2 separate regions of the Homo sapiens genome follow, and region 2 is linked to region 1. The links are contacts of gene promoters, found by promoter capture Hi-C in blood cells and fetal thymus (Javierre and others, 2016). All regions are on one chromosome and are shown on one strand. Each heading gives the region's core, a stretch centred on a gene start or on the middle of the fragment in contact. The rest is flanking DNA. Distances are from core to core; before and after follow the strand shown. Region 1 holds the start of GABRQ (gamma-aminobutyric acid type A receptor subunit theta). Region 2 holds the start of GPR50 (G protein-coupled receptor 50).

What was found. Contacts are between HindIII fragments. The CHiCAGO score rates a contact against its expected background, and 5 or more counts as called.
Region 2: the fragment with the promoter of GPR50 here is called in contact with the fragment with the promoter of GABRQ in region 1 in 2 of 17 cell types (M2 macrophages and non-activated CD4 T cells); the score reaches 7.1 in M2 macrophages.

Annotation. Positions count from the first base shown.
Region 1 is chrX:152,634,121-152,640,381 of GRCh38, reverse strand. GABRQ (gamma-aminobutyric acid type A receptor subunit theta) reads right to left here and starts at 2,487. Exons shown (of 9, transcript NM_018558.4): 1 at 2,031-2,487; 2 at 1-4. The coding sequence starts at 2,179. MAGEA3-DT (MAGEA3 divergent transcript) reads left to right here. Exons shown (of 5, transcript XR_938525.3): 3 at 588-778; 4 at 4,395-4,500. The HindIII fragment of the contact is 4,664 bases long and covers 1-3,498 here.
Region 2 is chrX:151,172,805-151,179,065 of GRCh38, reverse strand. GPR50 (G protein-coupled receptor 50) reads right to left here and starts at 2,482. Exons shown (of 2, transcript NM_004224.3): 1 at 2,158-2,482. The coding sequence starts at 2,344. It overlaps GPR50-AS1 (GPR50 antisense RNA 1), which reads left to right and starts at 1,230. Exons shown (of 3, transcript NR_135300.1): 1 at 1,230-1,689; 2 at 2,191-2,271; 3 at 2,796-3,868. RefSeq lists enhancers at 2,849-3,817, 3,818-4,787. The HindIII fragment of the contact is 16,411 bases long and covers 1-6,261 here.

The DNA of each region.
Region 1 (6,261 bases), core at 1,238-3,737:
TTTGCTGAAACAGAGAAGTCATAAGTAAATGCCGGTTGACTTGGGGCCCGCTTGCCAGTGGTTGCCTTGCTAGGGCCTTCTCTTCTCCAGCACATACGCAGACATGTCCAGTCATACGTGTACACACTCTCTCTCCCTGCTCCCCTCCCTCCCCATGGTGAGTCAGCCAGAAGCGCAGCGGTGACGCAGACTCCTCTTTCCTCCCCCCCCCACCTTCCCAGCTTTAATCCAGAGGGTGGGGCTCAGAGACTGGATCCCTGTTACCAGGCAGGACTTGTAGGGGTTGACGAGAGGAGGCGGTAGGAGAAGGGGAGACGAAGAAGAGTGGGCAGATGAAAGCCCTCAGAAAAATGCATTACTTCAGCCCCTTCAAGAGCCCCATCTTGCAATCAGCCTCGACGCTGTTTTCTAGGTTGGTGGGGGTCCTCCTGCCAGGGGCACCTGATTGCCCCAGGAAAAGTCATCTTTTGCTCTCAGTGCCCTAGTAAGATGAGCTCAAAGTTTCATTTCCCCTTACCTGGGCTAGGGCTGGGCATTTTTTAGTCACTTTTATGTCAACCTTGTTTCTGCACAACTCTGTTTTCCAGACTTGGCATATGGCATAAGACACACAGAGAGAGCCTTGCTGGTGTAGCTGAGATTTACGACCCTCATCCAACCAAACCATTTCAGATTCTTGGGGCTCAGAGCTCTCATCGGAAAGACATCTATTCTGGGAGCAGGTATATCTCTTGCTGAGCATGTGCTTCCACCCTGGAGGTGTCTTGGGTGAGCATAGGTAAGTGGACTCAGCCCAGCTCTGTGGAGAGCTGGCTTTTCCAGAGATCTCTGACACGCTCACCCAATTCACCTAGACCTTCAACAGGGCTCCTTCCCCAACAGGGCTTGCGAATCAGAACAGGCCCCGGCATCACTGTGACTCTTCAAATCTTTGACGCATTGCCCAGGGAACGTCAGCCCCTGCAAATGTGTGTGTTTGTGTGTGTGTGTGTGTGTGTGTGTGCGCACGCGCATGTGTGCATGTTCAGTGGCGCAGTATGGTATGTTGGGTTAAGGGCACTGCAGGGCTGTCTGCTGGAACCTTGCCAAACACCCCCCCCCCCTTTATGAGTACATGTTAATTTCTGGCTTGCCATTTAAACATTGTTAAAAATTATTCCTAATCATCTTTAATCAAAAATTTCATTTTGCAGCATCCCAAAATGTGCACATGAATTATTCCCAAATTAAAGCAATGCATTCCCACCTGTTTCCAAGCACACATTACCCATGTGCCAACGCTCAGGATCTGTGGCCACCCCAAATACACATTTCTGTGTGATTTACATGTAAAGGCTTCAGATACTCGCACACCCAAACAAACTTAAAATCAAAAAGAGAAAAAAACCGGAGTCTTCAAATATTTTCACACGACTAAGTACAAAAGCACACCCATCCCAGACCACACGGTTCGTGTTTATTCAGACACGATCGCACTGTCTGGGCTCCGATGGGTTTGAGTTAATCATTTCTATCTGCCGCATTGGAAAGAGTCCCTCATCCCCTCAACACATGCATGCACGCGCGCGCGCCTCAGGAAATGGACTAAAATGTAGACTCAAACAGGTGTCTCTCCTGTCTATGTTTTGTGAATTGCCCGTCATCCTGTACCCTCCTCCCCAATCCCACAGGTGCCAAAGCTGGGGAAAGCTGCCGGGAACCTTAAATCCTTGGGGATGGATGGACAGATCCTGGGACGAGGGCGACCCCCGCCCCCACCCCTCGGGCTGCGGTTTAGGCACACGCAGGGCTCAGTCAAGCTCCGCAGTAACAGGTGGGCGGAAGCACAGGGCTCCATTTCAACACCCCACTCCCACCTTACCCCTTCTAGGGGCCAACAGGCAGGGCCCGGGCGCCAGGGCTCAGCGAGCCCGGGTCCGAGTACCCCCCAGCCCGAGTCGCCCCCAGCCCGCTCCGTCCAAGAGGCCAGAGGTCGTCTGCCCGTCTCCATTCCCGTCCCCGCCGTGCCTAGCCTGGCGGTGCCCGCTTACCAGTTGAAGAGGTTCAGGACGACTTCGGGCACAGCAGAGGAGAACTCGAAGTGGAATTTCGGGATGGGACTGGGGTAGTTGCCCTCCGCGAGCCAGGTCCTGATGAGCAGCAGGATCACTGCGGCTCGCAGCATGCCTCGGATGCCCATGGCCGGGGCGTTCTGGGCGCCTGAGGGCGCGGGAGACGGGGCCGCGAAAAGGAACAGAGGTGGGGTGGGAGAGTGGGTGACTACTGGGGCCGGGGAAGGCGGGATTGCTGGCCCTTCCCCAAAGAGTCGCCTCTAAGGAGAGAGCAGCGAGGGCAAGGGAAGTAGGGGGTGCGGGGGTCGGCCCGGATACCGGAGATGAGAGCCCGGGAGGAGCAACCACCCAGCAGCTCTGCTGGACGCAGCTCCCCCCAGGGCCCGCCCGGCAGCTGCGAGGTGCGCTCCGTCTGCGGCCGCTCCTGGCTGCGACTGGGCACAGATCCCAGCTCGCTGCTGGCTCCGCCCACTCCGACGGCATCGCAGGCCCAGCCAATCGGACAGCTGCCAGGAGCCGCACAAAAAGGCGCGCGCTCCTGCCTCCGCCCGTAGCCTGCGCGCCGCCCGGCCCCCGCCCCTTCAGGCTTCTGCAGTCATCCCCCGGCCATCTCCAGACACAGGCAGGGCGGGGCCGGGCTGGGGGAGGGGGAGGAGGGCTGGCTCCTTGGGGGCTGGGCCAGGAATCCGCCTCAAGGGGCACTGGGTCCTGTCTCTTCTCTGCAAAATGCGAAATGTGTGTTTTTCTTGGAAGAAAGGGCCTGTGCCCGAGAGTTGTATTTGATGGTGAAGGGAGTGTGGTAATTTGACCGCCATGGCTGAATCTGCATTCTGAAAGACTTGGACAATTTTGGGCGTCAGGAGGTACCCAACGGCTGGTGACTCCGTACCCTTGAGCCTCCAGTAACCCCGCGTGCCTTGTCTCTGGATAAGGTCAAGGAGGATCCTAATGGGTTTTGTTACAGGGCTCTGGCCACAGCAGGACTGCTCCTCCCTCAGGATGGACATTGGGCTACAGGAGCCCAAGAGTTGCTTAAGACTTAAATTTCCTAGAGTGCTCTTCACCCCAACTTTGGGTACTCAGGAAAAAGACTCAAGGAACTGGAAGGGCTCACCAACTGGGGTCTCTCTGAGATGTGGTTGTGTCTCATCAGCCAGGGGATGCAGAATGAAGGTTCATGGCTGACACCATAGAAGGGGAAAAAAAGGCCAAGGTCAGTGTTTGGGGTGTTCAAGGGAGTTAGGCACTGGAGACCAGGGTATGCCAATGTTCCTGGGTTCTGACCCCATCATATGGAAAAGCCTGACATCTTGACTAGAGGGCTCTTATTCTTTCCACTACCTCAGACTCTGCCCCTATGGGACAGAAAAATCGTGGAGGATAAGAAATGCCTCCACCCAATTTCCTATGTCCTTCCTATCCCATGACAAAGCAAGTTCAGAAAGCTTAGAAAGTGGCCTCACCAGAGCCCATAGGGCAAATGGGTAATCAACAAACAGAGCTGCCATGTTCACCGGCATGCCACCTCCCACATCACACCATTGAGAAGAGTTGAAATCAAAACGGATTTCAGGTTTACTTTTGGTTACCTAGAACATTCACTGAGAAACACAACATCTCCCCCTTTTTTTCCCCTCAGTATTTGATGAAATGAGTTGAGATTGCTGGTGCCCAGCAAAGCATGACTTACCTGGTAGGCCAAGCAGTTTTGCACAGCTGAGGGTTTAACTCTTTTACCACTCCCCCTTTAAAATCATTTTAGAACCATACTTTTATGAAAAATGTCTCTCATAGTTTCCTGCCTTCTTTTAATGAGCAGAACACCCTCACACCTTTCTTTCCCATCTCCCCTCTTTCCCTGGCCATTGCAGTAAGAAAAAAGGATGATGGGACCCATTTGTCAGGATCACATATGAGAGCAGATTAAACCCACCTCTACTGCTACCAGTCCTGTCCCATCACCTCTGGTCACACAGACGTCCTTGTAGAGAAAATCCTTGTTTGCCAAAAATGTTAGAGCCATTCCGGGGCATTTTGTCCAGCCACCTCGGTTGTAATGTAGGGAAACTGAAGCCCAGAGAAGAAAAAGGGATTGGCCCAAGGTCACACAGTAGCAGAGGCCAAAACTAAAAACCACATTTCCAGGTCTGCTTACTTCGAGAAGAGTGCGTTTTCAGTCTAAGTCAGCTTTGACTGGAAGTTCTAGCAACCACCAGCAGGTGGGAGCAGATTTGTTTGAATGTGGGATGTTCCCAGCACTGAGGAATCAAATTCCACAGGCAATTGGTCTGGTCGCTCATTTGTTAGGGGAAACAAGCCTGAAGCCTGAAATTTTGTTCTTAGGTACCCTTGTGACTATGAAGATTGACAAAAAGTTGACGGCAACGATGAATTCTCTTCCAGAACTTACATCCCAGAAGGCCCTCCCCTACTTCGGGTCTCCCTAGAGGTAATGCTTCATTGAAATTTCTGACTCACAAGAAAAGGATAGCCAAAATACAAGAAATACAAAAATGCCATTATAATTTGTACTTATTGAGCGTTTGCCTAGTTAATTTATTATAATATCCATAAAGATCTAGATTGAATAAGCTTAAACCTGAATATGGGATAATGGTGTAGGACAAAGAACACTCATCTGGAAGTTAGCCCATCTGTGTTCTGACCCAGCTCTGCACACGACAGTGAATATTCCAGTTTGGCTAAAGGGTAGAGTAAGTTTGGAGGTAAGACAACAGGTGAGATAGGTAAGAGGTGAGAGATTAGGCAGAACCTGACTTTGTAAGCAACACACACTCAGTGTACAATAAATTCTTGTGTAATGAATGAGGCAAGAGAAAGAATCTGGGTCCTAATTTTCTAAAATAAAAAATTGTATTTTATTTTAGAGTCAACAGTAATCTTCTGAAGGATTTGTGCAAGGGAATGATACAATCAGAGTGGCACCTTCGCACTGAAGGAAAAACTGGGAGGGAGAGGGACTGGGGGCAAGAAGAGCACACATCTCCTTCTGGTAATGGCCAGCTAGGTAACTTGGACTAGCTGTTCCAGTGAGGACAATGAAACAAACTGGCTGAATGTAGAAAGAAATAATTGTCATAAAGAACTGAGAGATACTGAGGCTAAAATCCGGAAGAAGACAAGAACCCAGGGGGGAAAGCCCAGCACTAGAATCCTCTTTTGTCCTGATGGCTTCTACTGAATCTGGAAGAGAGTTATGAAATTGAGCTGCAGTTTTGGTGGCATCATAAGGAAAAAAGTGAAAGCTCAAGGCCCAAGGAAGTAGCGGATTTGATTAGCATTCTTGTCACTCTCAGCTGAGACCCTGAGTGGCTACCCCTTTGGGTTAATGGTGACCTATAAGTAACCAGCCCTTGTGTGGTCTTGTAAACCTAGATACTCATCATATGGGCAGTCCAAGGAACCTAAAGCCCTGATCTTGGATTAAAGTGGCCTTGGACAAGTAGTATCCTCAGGCATTTGAAAATACCCCAGCAAATGAAAAGACTCTGCTGGAAGGTATTATCATATTGGGCCTAGAATCATTTGTACAATAATTTTTCAAAAATATGTCAGCGTATAGTCAAAGATAACTTGGCATAAAAGGAAACACATAGACCATGACAGCCAGTAGACAACAAAAACAAACTCTCAAAGACTTCACGTATCAGAGTTACGTGACAAAGACTACAATAACTATGGTTCACTTTATTCCAAAAAATTAAAAATAAGTTTGAAAATATCTGTAAGGAACAGAAAATCATAAAGACTAATAGAGCTATTTTGAAAAAAATCAAGGTGAAAAACTAAACTATAACTAGTGTAGTTATACTAAAGACTATAACAATGAAACTTGAGAATTTAATGGATGGGTTTAAGAGAAGGCTAAACACAACTAAAAAGAGAATTATTGAATTGGAAGATAGGTTATAAGAAATTGCCCAGAGTTCTGTCTGGAGAAACAAATTATTTGGAAAAATAAAAAAGGGAGGATGAGAGACTCAATTAGTAGAGTGAGAAGGTCTGCCATATATTTAATTGAAGTCCCAGTTGAAGATGACGGCTGTAAATTTGAATTCACAGATTCAAAAAGCCCAATAAGTCATAGGCAAGATAAATTAAAAGAAATCTACTCCTAGACACGTTGTAGTGAAAGTAAAGAAAGCCAGAAGCAAAGAAGGCTATATTACTGGTCCAATTAAAAATAATG
Region 2 (6,261 bases), core at 1,233-3,732, 1.5 Mb after region 1:
GTGGGCGGGGGTGGGGGGGAGGAGAAAAAATCCTGCAAGGATTAGCAGAAGTGCCTGTTTCAGTTACATGCCGCGTCCACGTCCACGCGCAGAGCCGCGCACTGGCACATTCAGCGCCCTGCACAGAGCTCCCAGCGCCGGGCACTGAACTTTACTGGAGCCTTCAGGTTAAACAGGATAGAGAAGAAGGGTCACCCCCACTCCGGTCTTGTAGGGCTGAGGTGGGAACTTTTTTGTAAAACCTTTCACAAAAAAGAGAAGGAAGAGGCCAGGTGCAGGCGCAGAGCCCTCTTTCTTTGGAGACACCTCGTTGCTAATTAGCATTGGTTTGGCAAAATATTGCACTTCATCTTGGACTAGGAGAAAATGAGCGCTTTTGAAAAGGGCAAAGGTATGGCTCCTTCTTCCTCCTTCCTCCAGCGCTGTCAGCACTCGGCCTCAGCACTTTCTACCGAAGAGGTTCTTTCTATGGTTTTCCGGCAGAGTAATGAATTCAGGGAAATACAGCCGAAAAGAGAAGGGGCAAAGCCTTAAAAACAAAACCACAACAACCATAAAAGCCTTTATTTGAATTATAGAAGGAAGGAAGGAGAAGGAGAAAAAGAAAGAAAAGAAATCTAAAGGGAATAAAATGGGCTTCGCAGGTCGCCCCCAGGATTCCGTGGGTTTGCACCTCGGGACCGCACCGCGGGGGTGAAGGTGAAGACCTAGTGTATGGCCCCACGATTCCAGGAGACGAAGGAGAAATCGGAGACACCCACCAGACTTTGTAAGAAAACTTTTAATGACTGTGTGCCAGTCAGTGCGTTTTTAAACTTGTTCAGTGTTCGTGACTCCTTGCCCAAGCAAAGTAATCCCCCAGACCCCGGCCGCCACCTCTCCCCCACGCCCTGCCCGGGAGAATCCAGCTGGTCTCCCCACCCTCTCAGACCCCCTTCGGTCCCCACTCCTAGCCCCAGCCGATCGAGAATCTGGCGGTGGAAATTCCAGGCGCCGCCCCTCCCTCCCCCGGCCTGAACTCGGAGTTTGGGCGCCTTTGCCCCTTCCCCTCCCTTCCAGAGCCCTCTCCCGCCCAACCTGTAAGCCGGACTAGCTGCTCTGCAGTGTCTGCCGCCCCCACCCCCAGCACAGGTCGCAGCGCCCGGCATCCTCCCACGCTTCCCTCCTGCCCTGCTCGCCGCCGGCCCCCGGCCCCCGGCCTCCTCCCGCTCGGCAGTGGCTAGCAGCGGGGGAAGTCCCGCCTGCGGCTCCCAGACCCCAGCCCTTTGCAGCCTCTCTGAGTCCCCCATCGCCGCCTCTGAGCTCTCCCGTCGCCCTCCCGCCAATCCCTACTCGGTTTTGCTGCCTTCTATCCCTCCACCCCCAGCAACGCCCAGCTCCCAAGCCTCTTGGCCGGCCCGCCCTGCGACCCCCCAGTTCCCCGCTTACGGACCTTGGGATCTCCGCTGCCGCCGCCGTCGCTGCCACCGCCTGCTGTGCCCGACCCGCCGCTTGCCTCTCTCTGCCGTTCGCCCTGGGACGGGCGGACGGAGCTCGGCTCCGGCGGGCTCAGACCTCCCTGCTCGATTCTCGGGCGCGGGGGTCTGTGCTCCGCCGCCCGGGATCTGCCCGGGAGCCGTCCTGGAGCCCCAGGGCCGCGGCGAGCGGGCTCTTGGCCCGGCTAGGGAGAGGCCACTGCGTTGCGCTCTGGTAAGGGCCGCCGCGGCCGCCGCGAACTTAACTTTCACAGAGCAGGTCGCAGCCCCGCTGCTCCCTCCGCGTCAGTTCGGTCCGCGCTGCCTCAGCGCGGCCGCCCTTGCGGCGTCCGGCTCGGCTTGCTGTCCCCGGGCGAATCGCCTGACTCTCCCGCTCGGGTGCCGGCTCCCTCCGCATCAGGCCCCGACGGGACAGGGATCCTCGGGCTGCCGCGCACCACGGGAACGCTTTGTACTTGGATGCCCAAAGCTAATTCTCTGTGCTCTCTCGGCCTTGAGAACCTCCACGTTTAGAGGGCCGGGACAGAATACTACCACCCCCAGGCTTGCGGGGAATTTGGGAGCAGGGATGTTCAATATGAGGGCACTGTCCATAGATTCTCTATTCGGGGAGCTCAAAAACTAACGCCCTAGGGGTTGCAAGTCTCTGCACACTGGGTAGGGAGAAGAAGGGGTGGCTTACCAGAATTCCGGAGCTTCTTGTTCTTCGTCACAGCCAAAATGACCATGGAGTTGCCGATTAGGTCTACAACGATGGTGATAACCATCGCGCAGAACATAAAGATGATTAGAGCCGGTGGGTATTCTGGCTGGGGTAGCTTACAGCCAATACAGCCATAGGGGGTGGGAACCGCTAGGGTGGGCCCCATGTTGCTCCTGGGGATCGTTAAGATCTCCCAGCAGGCTCAGGATCAGCAGCCAGGTCCAGACAGCAAACACCTGTTCTGTCACCAGGAGCTCCAGGAAAGCGTGCCTCCCTCTCTGAGAGTCAGAGAGCAAATGACAGCATCCCGCCCCTCTCCGATGAGCTTTTAAAGCCTCAAGAGGCGGCTAGCCCCACCCCAAATCCCTCCCCCCGACCAATCAGACCTCCCTGAATACCCCCCCCTTGGCTACCCCCTCTTATTGGACAAATCCACATTGAGGTGTCATCTTGCTTCCGACTGCCTTGTATGTACTTCCTCTCTAGCCAGCCTGCCCTGCCTCTCAATCTCCCAGGTACCTTGCAAGCATCATGACTAGCTCGGAGTCCACCCCACACCCCCTCCACCAGCCCCTGTGCATTCGTTTCTAGCAAGTTCTTCTCCCTCTCTCCTCCAGTGCAAACACCTGGCAAAGAGATGTAGATTGCAGAGCCGGAGCACAGAGTCTTTCATAGGATCCAGTGCTAGACCAAGCCAGTCCACAGCCCCCAGCAGGGTATAGGGGATAGCCGGTGGCCCCTTGAACGCTAGATGCTTGCCTCTGCAAGTATCCTTGTGAGGTCCATCCCACGCCCCATGCCCTTGCCTGTCTAGAGCCTTCTGTGTCCCGCGGGGAACAGGGGACTACTGCTGGGAGCTCCCACCCCCAATCTGGGTCCCTAATCCCTAGGGAACTTAACCCCGCTCCCTTTCTCGCCAGGAGCCTCTTGGCTCCCTTAGCGGCAGCTGCGAGTAGCCGCTCAGTCCGGTCCAGGTCTTGCACTCTCCATAAAGAGATGTACCCTGCGCCCGACTCTGGAAGTGGGGAGCGGGTCTGCACCCTGGGACCTAGGGAAGGCATTGGTGGCCACTCGGTCCTCAGTTTGGGGGCGAACGGGAGCGGGAGCTCGTCTCCTTTCCAGCTGCCGGCAGCCAGGCGGCGGAAGCCAAGGGACGCTTTGGGAAAAAGTAAAACAGGCAATAAAGCTCTTCTCTTGGGTCCCCGCTTCTCAAGGAAACTCAGGACGAGAGGCTCTGACGCCTCTCCCTCTCGGGATGCTCGGCATTCTCTACTGAGCGGCACGGGGCAGTCAGGAAGGCTGAAGGAGCTGCGCCGCAGCCGCGGGAAAGGTGCGGAGGTGTCACGCGGCTAAACCAAGAAGCCTCTGGCTGACCGGCGATCCCTGCCTCAGTCAGGATTCCTCTCGGTCTTTCTCCTTTCCCATGCCCTTCTGGGGTTCTCGTTTCGACCCCATCCCTCTCAGGCCTCCCCCCTCGCCCTCCACACCGCGGATCTCTGTCCCCGTGCGTCACAGTTCCCCTGCGGTGCGCCCAGGATCTCGCTCCGCGGGGACCACGGAAAATTCGAATATTCGGGCAAAACTAAAGGGGCGTGATTCGGACACTCGTTCCCTCAATAACCTTGGTCACGGGAATGGATTTCTGCCGGCTACTAAAAGTTACGGCTCCTGTCGAGAAGCCTTTCAAAATCTCAGTAAACACCTTGAAACTTGTTCCAGACTAGTCTTCTTGCCACAGTAGGGGAGAGGGGTTGCACTGGCCGGGAGCGCCATCGTCTGGACACAGCAGCCCTCTTGCCCCGGGGTGGGTGGGGGGACGGACAAGGCGGGGTAGGTAGTAGGGGCCTGTTACGCGACGAACTTCAACATTCAGATACCTTTAACGAAAAAAACAGACACTGTTGAAAACCAAGATTGCACACACTGTCTCTAGCTATAAAGCCTAAACTGGAAATGTGTCTCCTTGTTTGAAAATGAAGCCCCCACCCCAATCCTGCGGCTTTCGCGTCTGTGAACTGAATCCGGCGCGAATTACAATCTCCCGCCTGGAGGCTTTTCACATTCATTATCTCACTGCCCCTCGCTGGCTGGAACTCCCGGCCGCGCGCGCTCGCATTTTTTTCCGTAAGTGCAGACAGTGAAGGGGCTCCGCTGTCCTCCCCACACAGCTGTGCGCCCTGTAAAGAGGCTGTCAGTCAAAAGCCCGTCCGCGCAGTGGAGTATTTTGTAGGATGCACATCAGGCTGTTCTTGCTGGTTCCCCGAGAGTTTGGATCCCTTCACTTGTGGGAAGGGGCGATTTTGAATTCAAATAAGTAAACAAAATACATTTGAAGGAAAAAACGAAACACACCTTCTAGTGACTTAAGACACTAGACTCCCCCTGCCCCAAACAAACCTGTAAGGAGAGCTTGCAAACCTTGCAGGCATTGCTACACTCCAGTGTACTGCACTTCTGAGATGAGGTGGCTAGAGCCCCCGGGAATTCCCCGCGGATGTGGCCTGAACATCCCTGGGATTGAGGAGCAGGCAGGAGAGCAAGGGTGAGCTGACTCCCTGGCCCCTACCCCTGCTTGGACACTACTTGACTGTGACCTGGTGGGACTTGGTTTTTCAATACTAGACAAGTGGAAAAGGTGAATATTTTAATGATCTAGGGGGACAGAATTATGTATCCGGTTAAAATAATTTTCTTATTTTTATGAACTCGTCTTAATAAAGATTCTGAACATGGCCCCAGTACTAAGAAAATCAGATATTGACAAAAAAATTAGCCGGGCGTGGTGGCGGGCGCCTGTAGTCCCAGCTACTAGGGAGGCTGAAGCAGGAGAATGGCGTGAACCCGGGAGGTGGAGCTTATAGTGAGCCGAGATCCCGCCACTGCACTCCAGCCTGGGCGACAAAGCAAGACCCCGTCTCAAAAAAAAAAAGAAAAAAGAAAATCAGATATTGAATCAGTTATAAGGATACATATGAGGGAGAAAATCGGTCCCTGTTTGCAAAGGCAAAACAAGTCTCGTGCAGTAAGTTCAATTGCTTTGGAAGAGTTAAGGGGGAGTCCTTTATTGGATAGAGTGTAATGTGCATGGTTTAAGATTCCACTGGATTTTTAATTAAGTCTCTTTCTAAAAGGCTTGTTAGGAAGCCCTAAATAACTGGAGTGGACATAAACCCTTTATTTGAGATTTTAAAGCTATTAAGATATCCAATCCAAATAGAGGAAACCTGGAATATTCCCAGAGGAATGAGAGGGCAAGTGAGCAGTTTCTGCTCAGGAATGGGTAATCCTTCTGAGCACATGAGGGTACTGCCTGCATCTTCAGTTCCCTGATTTACATCGGCAATGATGGAAGGTTACCTTTTATCAAACGTTCTAAGCTCTCTGTTTAACCCTCCAGCACTATAATAATGCCTTGCTTGTAACTAGTGAGTACAGTTTTAAATAAGCATATTATAGTTTTCAAAAGTTCATTGGGAAAATGTTTTCTCACAATGTCATTAAATAGATAAGAAAACTGAGGCCCCAGAGAGGTGAAAGAACTTGTCCAAGGTCATGCCAAGGCTTAAATCCAGGCTGGATTCCCTCTCAGCTCAAGGTCTTTCTCCCACAACCCAGCTTCATCAGACAGTGGTTTTTGTTTGTTTGTTTGTTTTGTTTGTTCGCTTGTTTTTGTTTTTTTGTTGTTGTTTTTGTTTTTGTTTTTTTGAGATGGAGTCTTGCTCTGTCGCCCAGGCTGGAGTGCAGTGGCGCGATCTCGGCTCACTGCAAGCTCTGCCTCCTGGGTTCACGCCATTCTCCTGCCTCAGCCTCCCGAGTAGCTCTGGGACTACAGGCACCTGCCAACACGCCCAGCTAATTTTTTGTATTTTTAGTAGAGGCGGGGTTTCACAATGTTAGCCAGGATGGTCTCGATCTCCTGATCTTGTGATCCGCCCGTCTCCGCCCCTCAAAGTGCTGGGATTACAGGTGTGAGCCACCGCGTCCGGCCAAGACGGTGTTTTGCTCTGGGTCTTAATAGTGTGGACTTTGTGTTCTCTTTTTTGTTGCTGTTGTTCTGGTTTTTGTTTGTTTGCCTGTTTTTAT